Regions from separate parts of the Homo sapiens genome. Here all the other regions are linked to region 5. Evidence: promoter capture Hi-C in 16 types of primary human blood cells and fetal thymus (Javierre and others, 2016). All regions are on one chromosome and are shown on one strand. Each heading gives the region's core, a stretch centred on a gene start or on the middle of the fragment in contact. The rest is flanking DNA. Distances are from core to core; before and after follow the strand shown.

Region 1 (2,700 bases), core at 42-2,541, 1.6 Mb after region 5:
CCTCTGGCTAGAAGAAAGAAATATGTCACTCGACCTCTCCGAGTCACTCACTACAGTTTCCAATTTCAGCTGAGGTTGTTATCAACGCTTGGCAGTTCCTTTATCTTTTTGTGATCAAGGTTCCTTTTCATTCCACAAAATATTCATGCCAAGTCTTTGCCATTATCCTAAAGACTCTGTTCCTCTTCCTTTTGCCTCCCTACTCTCCGCACCACCACTCTTCTTTACAGGGAAAAAAGAAGAGGAAGAAGCAGCTATGGCCCTTAGTACCAATTCCTTTGTCTTCTCACATTTCCATGCCAGTCTGAAACGTACACATATCACTTGCTCATTTTTACAGCTAATGACTCCACATGTGATCTGAATCCCATCCTCTTTGGCAAACCTTAAGACACTGTTTCAATGACATTCCAAATCTCCTTTCTGTATGTTTAATCTCTTTCTCACCACTGGCTCCTTCTTTTCAACCTACATATATCTAAGTCTATTAGTCATTCATTAAACCTGAATTCACCACCTACTATGTGCCAGACATGATGCCAATTTGGCATTGGAGTTACAAAGATAGTCCCTGTTCTCCGACCGGGCGCGGTGGCTCACGCCTGTAATCCCAACACTTTGGGAGGCCGAGGCGGGCGGATTACCTCAGGTCAGGAGTTCGAGACCAGCCTGGCCAACATGGTGAAACCCCGTCTCTACTAAAAATACAAAAAATTAGCCAGGCGTGGTGGCAGGCGCCTGCAATCCCAGCTACTTGGGAGGCTGAGGCAAAAGAGTCGTTTGAACCCGGGAGGTGGAGGTTTCGGTGAGCCAAGATCGCACCATTGCACTTCAGCCTGGGGGACAAGAGCAAGACTTCTCTCAAAAAAAAAAAAAAAAAAAAAAAGGTAGATAGTCCCTGTTCTCAAGTACCATCTAGTAGGAAAAATAAAGACACAAAATATACTGTGATAAGTACCATGGTGAATGTATATATGGAGTACTAAAGAGCACATCAATTCAGGATGGAAGATCGCCTAAGGCTTTCTGATAGAAGACTGAGTCTTGGAAGAGAGATGGGAGTTAGCCAGGAGAGAAGGGAGTAAAGGGCATTATTCATTTTGCCTTCTTTTCTTCCTTTCTTTCTCCTTCCACTCACCGTCAAAGTTGTTTAAGTTGATTTTAAAGTAATCTACATCAACATTGCATCATCACCCATTTATTCCCATGTCCAATTCAATCTGGTTTCACCTCTATATTGCTACTCTGAAACTGCTCTGAAAACAGTTTCCAGTGACCTCAATTTGCCCAATATTTCTGGATTTTGAAAGTCTCTGACCATTTCTACCTTTTTAAAACTTTTGTATATTCTTAGCATATGAGTCAGCATTATTTCTCTTTTCTCTTTTATACTCAGATGACTTGCTCTTTTTTCAGTCTCCTTTGCTGGTTTCTATTCCTTCCAAGAACTTTTAGTATTCTTGTTTCTCAAGATTTTGCCTTTGATCCTTTGTTCTTTATTCCCATTGACTTGCAAATGTCTATCTCCCAGCATATCTCTCTTCCAGGACTTGACTCACTTTACCTACATCTTTATTATATATCTAACACTGGAAACAGAACAAATCAAAATCTCAACATTTTTTCCCCTCATATACCTATTTCTATCTCCATGACTGGTTTTACTCTCCATTTAATTACATTAGTTAGCTATTTGATATCATCCTTAGCAACTTCCTCTCCATGTTCTCTGAGTTTCTTTGATTTACCAGATATTATTGATTAAAAATTTAAAAAGTGGAAAAACATGTGCCACGAAAACACTACTAGAAATACTTAAGACAAAGAAATATGATCAGGAATAAAGAAGGACAAAACTTAAAGAATTCAATTCATAAAGAAGACAGAGCAATTCTAAATGTGTATATACCTAATAACAAAACTAAAAATGTAAAAAGCAAAAACGATTAGAACTAAAAGAAGAAATAGACAAATCCACAATTATAGTTAAAATTTCAACACTCAGGCCTGGCATGGTGGCACATGCCTGTAATCCTAGCACTTTAGAAGGCTGAAGTGGGTAGATCACTTGAGGCCAGGAGTTCAAGACCAGCCTGGCCAACATGGCAAAACCTCATCTCTACTAAAAATACAAAAATTAGCCGGCGTGGTGGCACATTCCTGTAACCCCAGTCACTTGGGAGGCTGAAGCACAAGAATCACTTGAACCAGGGAGGTGGAGGTTGCAGTGAGCCAAGATCATGCAACTGCACTCTAGCGTGGGCAATAGAGCAAGAATCTGTCTCAAAAAAAACAAAAAAGATTTCAACGCTCCTCTCTCGGTAATTGACAAAACATGTAAACAAATAAATGAATAAGGATACAGAAAACCTGAAAAGCTCTATCAACCAACTCTACCTGATAGACATTTATAGAACACGCCACTCAATAGTAGCAGAAAATGTTTGTTTCAAGTGTACAGAAAACATTCAACAAGTCAGGCCATATCCTGGGCTATAAAATAAATGTTAACAGGCTGGGCGCAGTGGCTTATGCCTGTAATCTCAGCACTTTGGGAGGCCAAGGTGGGCAGATAGCCTGAGGTTGGGAGTTGGAGACCAGTCTGACCAATGTAGAAAAACCCTGTCTCTACTAAAAATACAAAATTAGCCAGGCATGGTGGCACATGCCTGTAATCCCAGCTACTCAGGAGGCTGAGGC
Region 2 (2,700 bases), core at 32-2,531, 1.0 Mb before region 5:
AATAAAAAATATACTGATTTTGCCATTTATGATTTTAGAAAATATGTTATTATTAGCAATGAACTATGAACTCATCAGTAAATATTAGGAAAGTATCTAAAATTTCTTATATACACACATACATAATATTTACTACTGGGTAAAAATGTGTTACATATTCTACAGTTACACATATTTTAAACAAAACTTTAGAAAGAAATTTAATTTTGGCAAACAGCAATAAGTAACATCTGTGTACTTTCTATTCTTATATAACAAAATTCTCAATTATTAGACTGTCAGTTTTCTGGTGAAAAGGGGACATTTTGTTCTAGGCTATTTAGTTTCACGGGAAATCATTTCCTGATTTCACTACTAAGCTTACTAGGATTCAGAAAAATAATTTAAATATTTTTAGTTGATTCAATTGGACAATTACGTCAATTTTGCTAATATTAGTCATTATCCAAAGTTTTTCTTTAAGGGATTAAAATGCACTATAGGGAAAACAATGTCATTACATATGTGTTAATATCCACCAGGTGGCAGAATAACATAACTGAGTATACACAAAATACTCCAGATTTTTTGTTAAAAAGGATATTTCTCTTGACAAACTTACAAAAGTTTCAAACCTACATGAAATATCTGATGTTAAAATGCAAGTTTTACAAAGTAGTTCCTTGGTATCACATCCCACAATAACATTATAACCACCAAAATAATAGCAATTATTACAGAGTATCTCTATACATTATCATCTAAACATCACAATAACCCTTCAAAACGGCCCATTTTCTCAGAGAACTGAATTGCCTTATTTCATAACATTTATTCAGCATCTTTTACGTGTCAGAATTATGCTAAGTGCTGAGAACACAACAAAGTTTCTGCTATTGGAGAATTTTCTAGAAGAGATAGAGATAATAAACAAGCAAATAAATGAATAAGTGATAAAGCTATGAAGAACACAAAGCAAGGTACCGTTAGAGAAAGTTATTGTTGGACAGAGGTTTGGCTAATTTAATTTAAAGCAGGTGGCCAAGGGGCACTCATTGAGAAGGGCTTTGAAACGGCACCAGAATGACAAGAATGCAGTCAAACAAATACCTATGGGCAAACCATTTCAAATAAAAAGAACAAACACAAAAGTTCGAAGGCATTTTTAAGAAATAGAAAAGCCAACAGGTTAGAGTGTTATCAGCAATGAGAAAAGTGACATGGGATTGGGAAGAAATTTTAAAGGTAGGTAGAATCTAGAACAAGAAAAGCCATACAGGCTATGGTAGAAATTTAAATTTATTCTAAATACAATTAGAAGCCATCAGGAATCAAACTTCGTTTGTGTTTCTAAAAGATGCTTCTGGCTGCTGTGTGGAACATGTACCATAGAGAGGGAAAAGTTGAGAAGTTACTACAGTCATCTAGGGGAGAAAGGATGATGACGTGAGACACTAGACTGACAGCAATGAAAAGTGACTGGATTTGTGACATAATGTGGCAGCAAAACCAACAGGACTTACTGATGAATTGTACTATGTGGGAGGTGAAAGAAAGGGAGAAATCAAGGGTGATTCCTAGATTTTCAGCTTGAGTAGATAAGTAGATGGTGATACTGTATACTAAGATGGCTTTTGAGGGAGAAATCATTAAGTTTTATTTTGTCCAACTTAAATTTGAGATGCCTATTAAACATACAACCAGAGATCCAGACACTGGATATACAGGGTTTGGAACTCTTTGGATGGTCACAGGTGGAGGAAAGTTTGGGAACCACTGACATATAATTACTATTCAAATAACTAGGAAAGTGCAGATAAAGAATACAGAGTCCAGGAAAGAGCTCAAGGGCAATCCAACACTCAGCAACTGGGCAAAAGATGAGGAACCAGCAAGAGTTAGAAACTCCTCAGTGGGGCAGGGGAGTAATGTTTTATGAAAACCTAACAGAGACTGTTTTAGCAAGGCATACTTATACCACAAACAATTACACATTCAATAAAAGCATAATCATTCAGCTATGGACTGAATTTCAGCTCCACATGGTGTTTAATTAGATTGAGAAACTTTCACTACATCTTTCACAAAAGATGCATTATCTTCTAGCCAGCCTTCACAAAAACAAATCTGACACATGAAAACCATGTTTGTAAAAATTTTAAGTTGGGCAAGAACTGCTCTACAAAAGGAGTTAATGTAAGACTCCTCTAGAAAGCAAGCTTTACTGACACACCCAACTCACAATGCAATTTTCACAAAGCCTTTTAGAAATCATCTTCCATACACAATGAATTTCTTCAATAGAATTTTACTTTGTAATCAGAAAGTACTATTCGTTAAACTTGAAAATTAGTATTTAATTTTTTATGTATCCAATTAATATTTAATTAAAAATTTTATATTATGAAGAACTACAAACCCAAGAAAAGCTTATTTTCTTCAAATAATCTCTACAATTGTAATTTTTATTATTTTTGAGATGACAAAATATCAAAATACACATTTAAATCTACAGTTTTAGCATTAAACCATAATATAATCAACCCAATTTATATTAAAAGTAAAACTTGAAAAATTTAATAAAAATTCCTCTTAGCAGGGTCATAATAAATATTTTGCAATAAGATATGCCAAGAGAGCAAAAAAAAAAAAAAAAATCACATCTCCTAAATTTAAGTATATTAAAACCAGGTAAAATAAAAAACATCTTTTTTTTGTTTT
Region 3 (2,770 bases), core at 1-2,500, 1.8 Mb after region 5:
TTTCGGGTGCGCTGCACCTCGAAGCGGGCTGTGACCGAAATGCTACAACTGTGCGGCCGCTTCGTGCAAAAGCTCGGGGACGCTCTGCCGGAGGAGATTCGGGAGCCCGCTCTGCGAGATGCGCAGTGGGTACGGGACCAGTTAGCCAGTTCTTTACTCATCATCCTCTTACCCAACACCCAGGATCTTAGGATTCAGAAAGATCCCACGCCAGGCCTTGGCAGAATTAACGGTGCCCCAGGCTACTGTAGAACCAGTTCGAGAAACGCTAGAGGAGAAAGAAATAGATGCTAATGTCAGCTGGGTCTTATTAATTACTTAGACCAGCGCTGTCCAGTGAAAATACAAGGCAAGCTAATCTTTATGTAGTTTTAAACTAAAAGTAAGAAATAGGTGAAGTTAATGGAAATAAGACATTTTGTTTAACCCAATAAATCCAAGGTATTTTAACATGTAATAATATCAAATGAATGAGATATTTTACATTCTTTTGTTCGTACTAAGCTTTTCAAATCTGGTGTGCTGCATTTACGGCACATCTTCGAACTAGTTACATTTAAGCGCTCAGTAACTACAAAGTGGCTAGTGGCTCACCTGTTGGACAATGCAGCCGCAGACAATGAGGAATTCTCCTGGAAAGGGTAATTCTGGAAGTCAGCCATTCACCCAAGCAGCATTTGATCTTTCCTTTTGCATGTTTTATTTATTTATTTATTTTATTTTATTTTTTTTTTTTGAGACAGAGTCTCGCTCTGTCGCCCAGGCTGGAGTGCAGTGGCGCGATCTCGGCTCACTGCAAGCTCCGCCTCCTGGGTTCACGCCATTCTCCTGCCTCAGCCTCCTGAGTAGCTGGGACTCCAGGCGCCTGCCACCACGCCCGGCTAATTTTTTTGTGTTTTTAGTAGAGACAGGGTTTCACCGTGTTAGCCAGCATGGTCTCGATCTCCTGACCTCGTGATCCGCCCGCCTTGGGCTCCCAAAGTGCTGGTATTACAGGCGTGAGCCACCTCGCCCGGCCTATTAACCTTTATTTTTACTGTTTGCACTGTGGTCATTCATAACTCACAAATGTGCGGTATTATGAGCTTTTAAATTTTTTCCGCTAATATAAGTAGATTGGTGCCTGTTATAAGGAAGCACACAATCCCTTTATTTCTTGTGTTCCCAAAAAACTACCACCTTCAGGGCTTTGCAAAAATATTTAAGAAAGGCTTGGGAAATGTGGTATAGAGGCAAATGTATGATCTTAGTAAAGTTTTCAACCAACACAATTTTTTTTAACCTATTTTAGTCTTGTAAAGAAAATGTTTTCACTCTAAAACAGGCAAAAGGGGTCGGGCGCGGTGGCTCACGCCTGTAATCCCAGCACTTTGGGAGGCCGAGGCGGGCGGATCACGAGGTCAGGAGATCGAGACCATCCTGGCTAACATGGTGAAACCCCGTCTCTACTAAAACAATAATAATAATAATACAAAAAATTAGCCGGCCATGGTGGCAGGCACCTGTAGTCCCAGCTACTCGGGAGGCTGAGGCAGGAGAATGGCGTGAACCCGGGAGGCGGAGCTTGCAGTGAGCCCAGATCTCGCCACTGCACTCCAGCCTGGGTGACAGAGCGAGACTCCATCTCAAAAAAAAAAGGTTCAGTGGAAGAATGAAGAAACACTTCCTGGGTTGTGACTCTGTATGTAGTTTTGTATATAGTGACTCTTACGTCATTCCCTCCTTGCAAGCAAGGCAAGAATAGGGATATATCTCAGGACGTTTTTAGTAGTTTTTTGGGAGAAGACTTTTGTTGTATAATCTTAGAATTTGTCTGATTCTAGGAAATGCTAAGGTATTTAAAACATTTAGGTGTCTTACAGAAAAAGAGGAACTTGGCTTAACCTATTATATCCTATTTAGTGGGACGATAAAGTGAATTATAAGATAAAGTTTACAGGGCTTAGACTACCACAGGAATTCACTTGTGTTTTATTTTAAATAAAGCAGAAGCTTTATTTTGTATCTCTGTTTAAAACTGCATATTAAGTAGCAGATTTTCTTTAAAAACAGTATTGGTAGCAGTCTGCAATGAATGTTACAAAGACAATATGTTTTCTCAGCAATTCTTGAAAGTAATTCTAGAAAATAATTTTAAAACATACATAGGCCGGGCGCGATGGCTTACGCCTGTAATCCCAGCACTTTGGGAGGCTGAGGCGGGCGGATCACCTGAGGTCAGGAGTTCCAGACCAGCCTGGCCAACACGGTGAAACCCTGTCTATACTAAAAATACAAAAATTAGCCGGGTGTGATGGCGCTTGCCTGTAATCCCAGCTATTCGGGAGACTGAGGCAGGAGAATCGCTTGAACCTGGGAAGCGGAGGTTGCAGTGAGCCAAGATTGCGCCATTGCACTCCAGCCTGGTTGACAAGAGTGAAACTCCATCTCAAAAAAAACAAAAAACAAACAAACAAAAAATAAAATAAGGATTTTACTTTATGAAATCTTTGAAATGTAGAATATGTACTTTAACTCATAATTATCAGTAATTTGGTTTATGTTATTTTTAATTATACAAAGGGTACAAAATATATGCTCATAAAAAAATTCAAACAGTAGCATAAAGCAAAATTCTTTGAGTTCCCCTTCCCCATCCCTCTTCCTTCTAGGACATAAGGTACTATTTTGGAGAGTACTTGGGGAGAGTAAACTTTCTATACCCCCTTTCTGTGGCTTTACCTCTTTCTCTCTGTTTATGTTTGTTTGTCTCCATTAATAATGTCATGCT
Region 4 (2,700 bases), core at 190-2,689, 1.0 Mb before region 5:
GTACAGAGCTGCCTGTACTTCACCGAATGCTGCCCCATGGCACTCGCCTCTGAGCACTTAGCCAGTGAGGTAGTAACAACCGGTTTACTAATGTTACTTCAGTTGTTTGATAAGCAGGGTAGAAACTTTGTCTTGTTCTTCTGGTATGCAATAGATGCTTAAAAATAAATGCTTATTGGCTAGCCGTGGTGGCTCATGCCTGTAATCCCAGCACTTGGGGAGGCCGAGGTGGGCGGATCACCTGAGGACAGGAGTTTGAGACCAGCCTGGCCAACATGGTGAAACCCTGTCTGTACTAAAAATACAAAAATTAGCCAGGTGTGGTGGTGGGCACCTGTAATCCCAGCTACTAGGGGGGCTGAGGCAGGAGAATTGCTTGAACCCAGGAGGTGGAGGTTGCAGTGAGCCGAGACCGCGCCACTGCACTCCAGCCTGGGTGACAGAGACTCCATCTCAAAATAAATAAATAAATAAGCAGCAAACAGGTTATACTTCATATACTTGGAGCAGATGACAGGAAACATTGGAATGGGCCTAAAACAAGGCATAAAATACAAGCACTTGTTTTACTAAAACAAAAAGGTACTTTTTTTGTTTTGCCTTTTCCTATTGGTGTATGGGTAGACGCAAAAAGAATATTTTGTATCAACAGGTGAACATGGTTGCTTTCCAAAACCTTAGGAAATGATGACAAATGAGGGTGTTACTATTTATAAGCTTCATCTTTCATAATTTCAGTCCAGTGGGTACAAATCATTGGCTCTTTGAAAGGTAACCTCTTCGTGATATAACATTTATTATCAGTCTCTGAGCGGCTACAATAACAAAAATCCTAGAATTTTTGCCAACTATCAAATTTCATTGTGCTAACTTCCTAGATGCCCGCTGCAGTACCTACCATTCCACTGGGCCTGTTAGAAAATAAACAGATAGGCCAGGCACAGTGGCTTACGCCTGTAATCCCAGCATTTTGGGAGGCCGAGGTGGGCGGATCACGAGGTCCAGAGTTAGATAGAGACCAGCCTGACCAACATGGTGAAACCTCGTCTCTACCAAAAATACAAAAATTAGCTGGGCGCGGTGGTGCGCACCTGTAATCCCAGCTACTCAGGAGGCTGAGGCAGGAGAATTGCTTGAACCTGGGAGGTGGAAGTTGCAGTGAGCTGAGATGGCCCCACTGCACTCCAGCCTGGGTGACAGAGCAAGACTCTGAAAAAAGAAAAAAAGGAAAAAAGGAAGGAAGGAAGGAAGGAAAGAAGGAAGGAAGGAAGGAAAGAAGGAAGGAAGGAAGGAAGGAAGGAAGGAAGGAAGGAAGGAAGGAAGGAAGGAAGGAAGGAAGGAAGGAAGGAAGGAAGGAAGGAAGGAAGGAAGGAAAGAAGGAAGGGAGGGAGGGAGGGAGAGAAAGAAAAGAAAAGAAACATAACCAGCTAGGAAGTTAGCTCCTGTGTTTACTCCTCTGGGGTAAAATTATTCACCTCCACTTCTTTCAATCATCTGCTTCTGTTTTTGGATTTGCTCTCATCTTTCTCCTCCAAGTTCTCACTTTTCCTTCACTGAAAAGTTGATGACTTCCATGAAGCCTTTCTTGACTAATAGCAAATAATAAAGGGAGTTCGCTGGACCCAGGTTCCCTAACACTATATAAAAAAATGTACCATCCTTCTGGCCTGTTCAGAATGATTGTATAATATATACATATATATAATATGCATTTTAAAATCACAGGCTGTTTGATGTTGTTGTAACCTCAACTACATGAGTCCATTTCAGATCTAAAGTTTTTAAAAGGCAGGGATAATTATATTTGGTTGAAACAATGAATTGCTAACTGATCATTTTTGACATGCAAAACAGCAATTGCTATACATTCAACATAATACATTGAAAGTTCAGATGAATTATTACATCTAATCTTCACAAACTGTAGGAAGTAGGTTCTATTATCATCCTCATTTTTTACAAAAAGAACTGAGGTTTAGAGAGATGAGTGATTTAATGAGAGATTACACAGCTAGCAATTATTTTTATGGGTTTGGGTTCTTAAAAACATCATCTGACTACAGAGCTCCTATTTGTAACTATTATACTGTATTGTCATTTTTGCTTGCTTTTTACGGTACTAATAATGGGCAATGTGCAAAGGGACTCAATAACAAGCTTTTGAAGGTGCCAGTACTTGGCAAGTTATCTGTTTATTATAACATTATAACCAACATTACTAACCCTATTTGATAAATACAAAATACAGCACAAGAGTGGGAAGAAATGGAGCACAAATAGCTAGCATTCTGCCTCTTCCATTTACCGTTTGAACTAAATCCATATATATGTGTGTATATATATGTATATATACAGATCACCAGAGGTCAGGAGTTCAAGACCAGACTGGCCAACATGGTGAAACCCCATCTCTACTAAAAATACTATATACATACATACATACATACATATATATATATAGTGTATATATACACTAAAATATATAGTATATATATGTAGTGTCTATATAGTGTGTATATATATACTAAAAATATATATATATACCCCCAGCTAATTTATTTTTATCAAGTATATATGTACACACACACACATCCCACTCTACAGATGAGTAGACTGAGGCTTCTGAGGCTTAGGTTAAAATATGACACAATATAACCCTCAAATCACATATACATTTTGAATTAGTCTATAGTTCATGTG
Region 5 (2,700 bases), core at 113-2,612:
CATAAAGAAGACTGGCAAGCTGAATGCTTTTCCATTCCAAAGTCTAAGATAGAGAACAATATAGATGTAGACCAAGCTAACTGTGATTAGAGCAGATTTTGGCCCATTAAGGGATCAGCTATCAGCCACCTGTATTGGGCCATTGGGGCAAAAGAACAAAAAAATAAACCCAGAAGTTTACTTTTGAGGAACAGGGAATCGAGGTGGGGAGTGAAGAAAAGCCCTGGATGAAGGTTCCTGCATGGAGGACTTGCAGGACTATTGTCCTTTCCAGAAAATGCTGTATCTTTATCTCTTAAATACGTGGAGGGCACTCTTCATGCCCGAACTACCCAGTCCCTTAGTCCCCAAGGAAGCTCTTGTGTGACCTCCTCCTGCCCCACCTCCACCACTGCTTTCCCGTTGTCAGAATTCCCCACCTCCTCCAAAAAGCCAGAGTCCCCGTGCACTGTACCAAGGCTGGGTCTGAGAATGATAACCCTGCCTTCTCCTCTAGGTCAGGCTCAAGGACACGACCCATGCCTTTTATTTCTGGGTCCTCATTACACAGCCGAGCCGGGCACACAGGCGCGTTCAAATAAATGTGGAAGGGAGGACCGGGCGTAGTGGCTCATGCTTGTAATCCTGGCACTTACAGAGGCCAAGGCGGGAGGATCCCTTGAGCCCAGGGGTTCCAGACCAGCCTAGGCAATATAGGGAGGCCTATCTCTATTTAAAAAAAGAAAAAAAAAAATGTGGACGGGAGGAAGAAGAGAGGGGAAAGAGAAATGCTCGCGTAACTAACCATAGGCACCCCACGTCGCCAACCAGATCAAAACTCAAGCTTACATCTACTCAATAAAACAAAGGACCAGGGCCTGAATTTCAATAAGGTTGGTTACGGGACTGGGAAGGCGGCTTGGAAATACCTAGTCATCTCCAATTCTTTTACGGAGGAAGAAAATGATCCCCTAAAGTGTGAGTCCGTGACCGAGTAGGGTCTGGGACACTAATCCGAGACCAGTTTGAACCCGAGCAGAAGGGCGCAGACACCCCTACGAACCACATCCCGGGGCGGATTCTCCAGTTCGGTCGGGTGGGAGGGGGCGGTCCCCGGCACCTACAGGGCCGGGAGAGTGATCCCAGAGGCCTCCCCGCCCAGTACCCGCCGGCAAAAAGCCAGCGGCACCCCCACGCCGCCCGCCGCCTACCGCCCGCCGCCAGGGCCAGGATCCGGACCCAGTCAGGACGCTCACCTTGCTCTCGGGGACGGGAAAACGACCTCTCGGAGAGTACAGTTCTGGCGCGGCTTCGGCGGGCTGGAGCCCAGAGTCTAATTCAAACTGCCCGCAGCCGCCACCGGTGCCCAATTCGCCCGCTTCTGGTCTCAACCAAACTTACCTCCACGCCTATTGGTCACTCTAAGTAGCTGCGGACCAATCCGCGCCTGCGCACTCAGACTGCCGCGTCTGATTGGCCCTTTCGGATGGATTTTAAAAACAAGCCCTCTACTGGAGGTGCCTGCGCCGGAGTTTACTGTTCTTTTTTGTTGTTGCGGGGAGACGGAGACCACGTGCTTTTGCTAATGCTAGACGCGGTTTTGGACCGCTATTTCCGCAAAAGTCAGGGAATGCGCCCGCTGATTAGGAAGGCGTGGTCTATCGCCTACAGCCAGGGGAACTGTGCTGCCTGGTGAAACCTCTTTTAAACTGCACGTACCAATCTACTTAATTAAACGTAAATTTAGGACATAGATACTAGGTGCTGTGTTTGTCATGCATTCTTTATCCGGTGTCGTTCTTAACAATTCTTTGAGGAAAGTATTATCCTCATTTTATTAAAAAGTTAACAGGCTCATAGAAGCTAAGTACAGTAATTTGAAATTGAATCTACGCAATGCAGGATGTCGCTCTTAAATGCTGTCCTTTATGGTTCATATTTCTAAGACGTGATTCTGAACACTTATTTTCCGGGATTAAGGCGTGGGGGGAGGACACTGCATCAGAATTTAAAATTCAGAAGAATCCTCAAAACGGGGTGTAATGCTTTTCGTGAAGCCCACTAGTTTTCTATGTATGTTATATACTCGTTTTATTTCCCTATTAAACTATAAATAAGCTTCTAAAGGCAGAAGCAAAACAATTAATTGTTAAAGTAATAGATCTCTAATGCTGTTGTCTGCCTCAATAGGTACCAAACTTTCCAGCCCCCTGACTTTACCTTTCATTAGACTGTTCCTGCAGTACCCAATTCAAGTGTCACTTTTTTTATAAAACCTCCCTAATCCCACCCACTCCTTAGAGATAATTATTTCCTAGACCTTTCCTGGAACTTGCAAACTTCATGTTTAGGATTTTCGCCGTGTCTTGTCTTGTATTTATGTCTACGTCTGACTCCCCCATCAGACTCAAAAATTCCTTTACAGTAAAATCTGTTTTAATTCATTTTTGCATCCCTAGTAACTTTGCACATAGTAATTTAAAATCCAGATCATCTTGGGAGATAAAACTGCTATTTGGGGAAAGGCCTTGTTCTTACTATCTTCTACCTTCGAATCCCCAAAGGGAGGGGAGAGAGCAGGTAGGGGAGGAAAACTTTTGTCAGACATTGCCATGATCAGTCTAGTGTCTGGTAGTTTTAGAATTTGAACCAAATTGTGTCTGGCTTCAACACAAATTACAATTCCATTGCTTCCCAGAGTAATTATTCAACTATGTATAG

The links. Contacts are between HindIII fragments. The CHiCAGO score rates a contact against its expected background, and 5 or more counts as called.
Region 1: a fragment that was not itself captured here is called in contact with the fragment with the promoter of CENPF in region 5 in 2 of 17 cell types (fetal thymus and naive CD4 T cells); the score reaches 7.3 in fetal thymus.
Region 2: a fragment that was not itself captured here is called in contact with the fragment with the promoter of CENPF in region 5 in 7 of 17 cell types (M2 macrophages, monocytes, erythroblasts and 4 more); the score reaches 11.3 in M2 macrophages.
Region 3: a contact is called between a fragment that was not itself captured here and the fragment with the promoter of CENPF in region 5, in 1 of 17 cell types (fetal thymus). The highest score is 11.3, in fetal thymus.
Region 4: a contact is called between a fragment that was not itself captured here and the fragment with the promoter of CENPF in region 5, in 1 of 17 cell types (monocytes). The highest score is 5.2, in monocytes.

What each region holds. Positions count from the first base shown.
Region 1 is chr1:213,048,000-213,050,699 of GRCh38, reverse strand. No RefSeq gene overlaps it. Among named protein-coding and RNA genes, the nearest start is that of RPS6KC1, 1.9 kb to the left of the region's middle. The HindIII fragment of the contact is 3,639 bases long and covers 1-2,700 here.
Region 2 is chr1:215,604,594-215,607,293 of GRCh38, reverse strand. The region is part of intron 13 of KCTD3 (potassium channel tetramerization domain containing 3); the gene reads right to left. Among named protein-coding and RNA genes, the nearest start is that of KCTD3, 39 kb to the right of the region's middle. The HindIII fragment of the contact is 1,839 bases long and covers 362-2,200 here.
Region 3 is chr1:212,788,889-212,791,658 of GRCh38, reverse strand. It overlaps NSL1 (NSL1 component of MIS12 kinetochore complex), which reads left to right. Exons shown (of 6, transcript NM_015471.4): 1 at 1-129. Among named protein-coding and RNA genes, the nearest start is that of NSL1, 1.5 kb to the left of the region's middle. RefSeq lists an enhancer at 431-1,209. The HindIII fragment of the contact is 1,488 bases long and covers 507-1,994 here.
Region 4 is chr1:215,626,060-215,628,759 of GRCh38, reverse strand. The region is part of intron 71 of USH2A (usherin); the gene reads left to right. Among named protein-coding and RNA genes, the nearest start is that of KCTD3, 60 kb to the right of the region's middle. The HindIII fragment of the contact is 1,440 bases long and covers 720-2,159 here.
Region 5 is chr1:214,601,857-214,604,556 of GRCh38, reverse strand. It overlaps CENPF (centromere protein F), which reads right to left and starts at 1,362. Exons shown (of 20, transcript NM_016343.4): 1 at 1,236-1,362. RefSeq lists a silencer at 1,259-1,468. The HindIII fragment of the contact is 1,274 bases long and covers 826-2,099 here.